Regions from separate parts of the Homo sapiens genome. Here all the other regions are linked to region 3. The links are contacts of gene promoters, found by promoter capture Hi-C in blood cells and fetal thymus (Javierre and others, 2016). All regions are on one chromosome and are shown on one strand. The core of a region is centred on a gene start or on the middle of the fragment in contact, and the rest is flanking DNA. Distances in the headings are between cores, read along the strand shown.

Region 1 (2,700 bases), core at 8-2,507, 430 kb after region 3:
TGGCCAGCCGGGATAGATCTCAAGTCTTAGACCAACTTGAGGGTGAGTGCTCTTGCATGATGTAAGGGAACATACACAACTAGGCGTCTTTTCTGTTGTATCCATGGGAAGACAGTCTTTAGATCTGCAGCTCTATCATTTCATGCAGAATAGTTGCTTTATATTTTTCATCTTTCTGCATCACAGTGTCTGTCAGTAACTTACAGACTTTTTCACTGCCCCGTTCATAGCAATACATTTTTATATATTGATCTGATATGTATGTGAAAAAAGTTTTATGAAATAATTCTTACAACCACAAATGATTTTATCATGTTTTATTCAGTCCTCCTTTTTTGTTATCAGTTATTTAATTAGGTTCTTCTTAAGAAATGTAGAACACCAATTTGTGAGGATAAATTCCATGAGTCGGGGCAAACACAGATCGCAGGTAGTCCTGGAGCTTAGGAATAGCTTTGATTTTTGGTAAAATTTGTGACTCCACAGCTTTCTGATCAATCTTGTGCTGCTCTGTAATCTTGTATTTATCTTTTTCTGTGCTGAAGATCTCAGCTTCCTGGTGTCTGGGCTTCTGCAGCTGCTGCTGCTTGAATAAGCATCAGTGGGATGTTTTGGGATTTTTACATCGCTGATAACAATTTTGGTTGAGGTGGCAATGACAGATTTCTGGTGTTTTCTTCATAGAGGAACTCGATTGAGGACCAGAGGTCCAGTCACAAGTAACAAGCCACTAGCCAGGTGCTTCAGGAAGACCGCCCTCTTGCCTCTGTGGAATCCAGTGAGGATGATCAGAACGTTCCCCGGGGTAATGCTGGTTCGCAGTTTTCTCACGTGTCAACTGAGGGTTTTTTTTTTTTTTTGCCATGGCTCAACAGCTTTTGAGGCACATCTTCAGTAGGAAAATATCTAGGCATTTTATGAAGTTTAACCACCTGGGTACTACCATTCTTGTCACCACCAACTGGTTTTGTAACAGTTGCAAGAACCTTCTTTTTCTTTTCAACCTCGTACTTAGCGGCTGAGTACTTCCTCTTATACACAGCTTTTCTGGAATACATAGCACATCGGGAATACCTGCCAATTCCTCTGACAAGGACAGGGTTGTGCTGCAATGGGGCTTCCCCTTCTTGGGCTTCTTAGCCTTGAGGTGACCCTTTTTCACCTTGTCACCAGCCTCAGCCTTCTTGGCTTTGGGTTTCTTCTCTTTAGTATCCGGCTTCTCAACTTTTTCACCCACCATCTTACAAGATGGGGAAGAGCAAGTCCCTTTGTTTTAATTTTTTAGAAAACACGGGTCAGGGATCAGTAGATTGTTGTCATTACCGCATCTGTAGCTGGAAAACAGTTGTCTGTGTGGTGTTGCTCTTGCAGAAAGAAGAGCCACCTCATCTTTGGTCATTTCAAGTGGTGTCCCAGCTTTTTGTGGTTAATCTGTGATAGTTGAAATAATCAGTACTTAGCTTGTGAGTGCCTCTTTCTCAAATTGCAGAGAAGTGACTAAGATATCCTCTTACCACCTGTCCTAAAGTGCCCTGCCTGGTGTAACCACCCTGAGGTAAATGTGTCTGCATTGCTAGAACACCAGTGTTTTGGAGCCTAGAATTGGTGAGTTTTCATTTAATGCAAAACCTCGTGTGGAAAACCAGGCTGCTCTAGAAACTCAATGGGGAGTAATTAGTAGTTTTACTAGTTGTAGTTATGAGGATGAGCTATGTGCAGAATTTTAGCTTTTTTTCCTTCCAGTATTTACTGCATCTTTCCTATATGCAAGATACTATGCTGTGCTGCAGTAACAATGCTACAATAATCAAAACAGCATAGCGCTGGCATAAAGAGCAACAGCTAACACCACTAGAGTATAACAGAGCACCCAGAACGGAGCCACCCTTACACAATTATTGATTTTTGACAAATACACTAAAACCAAATGGAAGGAAAGATATTTTCAGTAAATGATGCTGAACAACTGGATATCCATACGGAAATAATAAGCAACAACCCCTACCCCACATTATACAAAACATTCTGAAATGAAGGACCAATGGAAGGAATGGCAGGAACCAACATGGGAGACATTGGAAAATAAAATTAGTAAGGAAAACTGTATACTAGTTCTAATACATTGGAAAATCTAAGTGAAGTAAATGGCTAAAAAGTACAAAAAAATACAAGAAATAGAAAATCTAAGCAAACCAGTAAGTGAGGAAGACATAAGAAGAATCTGTCAGCTAAGAGGAGAAAGTTACTGAAGGAAGGAAGGAATGAGCAGTTAAATCGAAGACTGGATGAGATCAGTCAGAGAAGTCTCTTTGGATTTGTATCTTAGACATTATTTATGACCCCAAGGAGGTTTTTTCAGTGAAACAGAATGGATGTCCACATGCTGTGGGGCTGCAAAGAGAATTGGGGGTAAGGAAGTGGACACGGATTAGATTAAACAGTTTAATGTGGTTCTGCTGTAAATGATACCCAGGGCAGAGTCTTGAGCATACTTAAATTATAATTGTCAAGAGCCAGTAGAGAGGGGAAGGATGAATATGCGAAGGAGAAAACAGCATTGATGGTGAGAAGTCCCTGAGGAATTGAGGTCTGGAGTAATTGGCAAGGGATTTGCCCTAGACAGACAGAGGAGGGTTCTCTGTTTCACTGTGAAATGAAAGGACCAATGAAGATCCAGCTCATGACTGGAGTTGGGAGGAA
Region 2 (2,700 bases), core at 144-2,643, 290 kb after region 3:
GTCAGTAGAGTCCTGTGACCAATGGAGGGGATACATTGTTTTCCACAAGGCTCATTGATCAGACACCTGCCCCTCTGGCTCTCAGATATGAACCCATACACAGGTAGGAAGCCAGGGTCAGAAGCATTACTTGAGAGTCAAATAACATGAAGTTGGAATTATGTCTATGGCTTAACACAACAGCGTGCAGCAAATGCTTCCATGGAAGGGTATCTTCAGCTGATCTGGTCCTGGTATTAGGAATGTGCCACTCACGCCGGATGGCTGGCCTTGTTCAAATCGCTCAGTTAAAACATAGTATTCACTGGGTGTCCACTGATTGACTGCTCAAGGCTCCAAGGCCGTTTGGAGGAGGTGGGAGAGGACAGCCTAGCCATGAATTTGATCACACAAAATTAGTGGTCCCCGTTTTAAGGTGAAATCTCATTTCACGTTAAAAATATTTTGTAATGTCCAAAGGTTTGGGGAGGCAAAATGTTATGATACTTAGTTCTTAGGATTTGCTCTTCTGAGATTTTTATGAAAATAAGAGTGTGAGAAAAACGTTTTTCTATTCAGTATGAAAAACATCTCTGAGTACGGGGCCTTGAGAAGCTCCAATGACGGGGCCTGGTCCACTGCAGAAGCAGTTTGCTCAAGTGTCTGCATGTCTAATGTTAAAATCGTTTTCAATGCAAATAGTTTTGTGGGCTGTATTTTCCAGGAGGTGATGAAAATGTAAATGCGTTTTATTTACCTGTTGGTGGTAGAGCAATGCCGTCCAGTCTTTCATCACTGTCCGCGATCTCTGCTGGTTACAAACATAAGACACAAATCTCATTAGTTCCAGGGAGCACATTCATTTTACAGAAAATAGTGATGTAATTTTAAAAACTCCAGTATACATAACTGTTTTCACCATTCTTTTCTGTTTTCAGCTACCGTTGGTTCATATTACAGATGTTAATATCATTATTTGAATATTTTTTGATGATGGTGATATAAAATCAACTTTCCCGTATTAAAACTTTTTTTTTTTTTTTTTTTTTTTTTGAGACGGAGTCTCGCTCTGTCGCCCAGGCTGGAGTGCAGTGGCGCGATCTCGGCTCACTACAAGCTCCGCCTCCCGGGTTCACGCCATTCTCCTGCCTCAGCCTCCCGAGTAGCTGGGACTACAGGCGCCCGCCACCACGCCTGGCTAATTTTTTGTATTTTTAGTAGAGGCGGGGTTTCACTGTGTTAGCCAGGATGGTCTCGCTCTCCTGACCTCATGATATTAAAACTTTTTAAAATCTTATGAACCTCATTCTATTGATCACTGATGATTTCTGTTTATTTTCACTTATTTACATAGGCTTGAATATCGAACCAGCATGTGGGGTGAATTGTTTAAATAGGGTCATCGCGGGGATGTGTCAATGAATTCCTGCTGTAGAATTTGCACTTGGCATCGCCGGAACCACTCCTGGGGGGCAGCTTAGGAAATCTTGAGAATGAACCTTTCTTTGGAGATGGCTGATTCAGATCCTAGAACTGCCAATCTAACTCTGGCATTAACGTGGTCATGAAGAAGGAATAGGCGTTGCTTCAAAAGATTCTCCATTTCTAAGTTTTAAAATGCAAACCTTCGCTCGTGTCTGATAAATGTATCCATCTCCTTGGGAGTTTTCCAAAGGTAGATCCTTCAGTCACAAAAAACCTTCTGTTACATGCGAAAAAAAAGGTGCACGTGTGTCTCTTGACAAGGGATGGGCTTGTTAGTTTCCCGTAACATGTGGGGATGGGAAAACATCACATTATGGCCCCTGGGATAGTTTCGGTGGTGGCCTCCATGGCTCAGGGCCTGTGGTCCCCACAGGCAGGCCCCTGCTGACTGCATAATGTGCGTGGGCAGCCCTTGTGAGGCTGTTGAATGAGGTCAGCCTTGGCACCATGTTGTAACACTGAGTCAGAAGCAGCCTAAACTAGTGCTACGTACTTGTTTTTATTGTTGCTTTAAACATAATCAGGGCTTAGCTACGGCTAGAAATATTGTATGGCTCCCCTGTCTCCTTCATCCTCCAACATCTTGTCCTCAGATGGACGCTCACTGGCATTAATGAAAGACCCCTTGTCTGCTGACCTGCTAGATCCACCACAAAGAGAAATCACTGAGAAGGGATGAAATATGCAAGACCAACCTAGGTTGGATTAGATTAGCAACTGCTAAAAATGATGTTGTATTTGGGAGGCCGAGGCGGGTGGATCACGAGGTCAGGAGATCGAGACCATCCTGGCTAACACAGTAAAACCCCGTCTCTACTAAAAATACAGAAAATTAGCCAAGAGAGGTGGCAGGCGCCTGTAGTCCCAGCTACTCGGGAGGCTGAGGCAGGAGAATGGTGTGAACCCGGGAGGCGGAGCTTGGTGAGCCGAGATCGCGCCACTGCACTCCAGCCTGGGCGACAGAGCGAGACTCCATCTCAAAAAAAAAAAAAAAAAAAGATGTTGTAGATGAATATTTAACAACATAAAAATATTCAAACCATGGGATAAATGGTGTGATTAAGATTCTGGAAACAGGTTTATAGAAAAAATATGGCACATACTGAAATGTTAACTGTGTTTCCCTCTGGATGAAAGGCTTTAGGTATTTTAAATTTTGTTCTATGGCTTTTAGAAATTATTTTATATATGAAAAATAATGAACATATGTTATGTTTATATTTAGAAGACATTATT
Region 3 (2,700 bases), core at 93-2,592:
GAGATCTCGGCTCATCACTGCAATCGCCACCTCCCAGGTTCAAGCGATTCTCCGCCTCAGCCTCCCAAGTAGCTGGGATTACAGACGCGCACCACTACGCCCAGCTAATTTTTGTGTTGTGTGTGTTTTTAGTAGAGATGGGGTTTCACCATGTTGGCCAGGCTGGTCTCGAACTCCTAACCTCGTGATCCACCCACCTCGGCCTCCCAAAGTGCTGGGATTACAGGGGTGAGCCACCGTGCCCGGCCTTAGTGCCGTATGTTTAAAAGTACGCATTTAAACATACTTTTTCAATTTGATTACTAGAGTTCCTCCATTACTATGAATTTTTAACACTAGCAGCTCTCAGAAATGGTTGTATTCCTATTCCTGAGCCAATATAGGTTTAAGTAATAGGGCTGAGCTCATAAATGGAGCAGTAATATTCCATTAGGACACAGAAAAAAGTCAACGTAGATGGCATCAGGACTGTTTATCTTCAGTCTTCCTAAAGTCGATTTTAATTGTTCTGAAAATGAAAGTACGTAGTGGATAGAGATAGGATCTTATACCAAAGGGATTATTAGTGGGGGAACTGCAGTGCCTGAACAGTGTCTGCAAGGAGGAAAAGGGGGGAAAGACTTAAAGTGGCCATTTGGTCCATCAAAGTCTCTTCTGCTATCAATCCCTTGAAATTATGTAAAAGCTAAATGTTATTCTGCATTTAGAAACTATGTTCTTAGTATTATGTACAAACACTATTTTTTAGAATGTAAATACATAAAGAGGCCTGAATTTTACTGAAAAAAAAATCTGTGAAAGATATGGTCTGCTGATAAGTTCTCTTCAGCCCTGACGCCCCTTAGAAGTCCCAAAATCTATGGAACAGGAATTACTCGGGAAATGGTGGTTTCAGTGTAAAAGATGTCATCTACCCTTTCCCTCACTGCACAGATGGTGAAGGGGAAACTCAGAGAGATAAGTCACTTCCCCAAGGTCAGACAGGGTAAAAGTGGACCGGATCTGTTTGGTCCTGAGCCCAAACATTTCGAATGGACATAAGGCTGACAAAGGAACAGTCGGTCCCAGAGCGTCAGGAGTTGAGGTGGGATGGGACCGCAGGGAAAATACTGGGTGGGATGACTTAAACTTCCCGGCACCAGGGGGCGCCAGACACTCTATTTTACCTAAAGGAGACTGGCTTCTACCGACAGGAAGGTCCCTTGCCCCCAACAAAGAGGGCGTCCAATGACGTAAACCAATCCGATTGCTCTGTGCCAGGGCCGGGATTCGCTGGCGTAGCCAGTCAGTGCTGCCCCACAGCCGCGTGCGTCTGACGTCAAGGCAGGGGCGGGATCCGGTTGGAATTTTGGCGGGTTCAGCTGTGAACGAAGAAGGCGTCCCGGCATCGGGTGAGGAGCGCGGGCCCCGGGCGTGCGTGTGACCCTCGGGCGGCGGGGCCGGGGCCGCCTCGCACGTCTCTGCGCGGGTTGCAAGGGGTCCGAGGCTAGAGGCGCGGGGTCCCGGGAGCTCGGGTGGGCGCGATCTGGATTTGGCGGCAGCTTGGGACCGCTCGGAGCTGGCATGGCCGGGCCGGGGGCTGGGAGTTGCTGGCCGTCTACTAAGGAATCGGGTTCTTCCTTTTAAACGCAGCCTTTTAAGTGCTTGCCAAGTGCCTGCCGCCTGGGCTTTCTTTTATTCATTCATTCATTCATTCATTCATTGGTTTCTCGTATTCATGATTTGCCAATGATTATTGAATGCGGACGGTGTGCATGGCTCGGATCACATTTCCGCTGCCTTCACAGCGCTTACAGTTTAAAGGCACGAGCAGGTAGTAAACAAATGCACGACAGTGGACGACTCAGGGTGGTCCAGAAAGTCTCAGAAAGATGAGTAAGTGGAGACCGAAGGGCGAGAAGGACCTGGGGGGAGCTTTCTTCGACAGAGCCTGAGACCTCAAAGCAGCTTAGTGTGTTCCAGAAGGTGGAAGCGGGCTGGCCCGGCTGGAGCATCGTTATGGGTGTCGGGGTGGGTAGAATTGGACGTGGTGGATTGTGGAAAATGTGAGGGAGTAGAAAGCTTGGAAAGAGAGAGAGAATATGAATCATTGCCTCGCAGGCTTTGTAGATTTTTTCTAAGGGCAATGGAAAATCATTAAAGAATTTCAATGAAGGGACCCCCATGATCTGATTTATGTTCCTAAAGGTTACTAAGGAAAGGGAAGATTACCGTGGCTGTCGTATGCAGAACAGATTGCACGGGGACAAAGAGACCAACATAGAAAGCTAACACAGTCATTGGGTTAAAGGTTGACGGTGGCTTGGCCTAGGGTTCTGGCAGTGAAGTTGGAGAGAAGTGGCAGATTTGAGCAGTGTTTTGGAGATGGGACCACAGTACTTGTCAGTGGCCGTGGATTTGAGGGCGAGGGAGGGTGCACAGTTTCATTTTGGGGGAAGGCAAGGCCGGTTACAGACTTGAACGAGACAGTTTGCTCCTAACGCTCAGGAAGCTTACTGTCCAATAGGTTCCCCAGTAGATAGCACAGTGTGTGGCACATGAGGGATCCGTGGAAATGTTGGTTGAATGAATTTTTAAAAAGCGGCCAGGCGCGGTGGCTCACGCCTGTAATCCCAGCGCTTTGGGAGGCCAAGGCGGACGGATCACCAGGTCAGGAGATCGAGACCATCCTGGCTAATACGGTGAAACCCCATCTCTACT

The links. Contacts are between HindIII fragments. The CHiCAGO score rates a contact against its expected background, and 5 or more counts as called.
Region 1: a fragment that was not itself captured here is called in contact with the fragment with the promoter of MCM10 in region 3 in 1 of 17 cell types (fetal thymus); the score reaches 5.5 in fetal thymus.
Region 2: a contact is called between a fragment that was not itself captured here and the fragment with the promoter of MCM10 in region 3, in 1 of 17 cell types (naive CD8 T cells). The highest score is 5.0, in naive CD8 T cells.

Annotation. Positions count from the first base shown.
Region 1 is chr10:13,591,084-13,593,783 of GRCh38, forward strand. The region is part of intron 1 of PRPF18 (pre-mRNA processing factor 18); the gene reads left to right. It also overlaps the pseudogene RPL6P24. Among named protein-coding and RNA genes, the nearest start is that of PRPF18, 5.5 kb to the left of the region's middle. The HindIII fragment of the contact is 4,940 bases long and covers 1-2,700 here.
Region 2 is chr10:13,446,530-13,449,229 of GRCh38, forward strand. BEND7 (BEN domain containing 7) reads right to left here. Exons shown (of 9, transcript NM_001369863.1): 8 at 737-787. Among named protein-coding and RNA genes, the nearest start is that of BEND7-DT, 81 kb to the right of the region's middle. The HindIII fragment of the contact is 9,385 bases long and covers 1-2,700 here.
Region 3 is chr10:13,160,216-13,162,915 of GRCh38, forward strand. MCM10 (minichromosome maintenance 10 replication initiation factor) reads left to right here and starts at 1,343. Exons shown (of 20, transcript NM_018518.5): 1 at 1,343-1,391. RefSeq lists silencers at 1,092-1,405, 1,428-1,607. The HindIII fragment of the contact is 4,789 bases long and covers 1-2,059 here.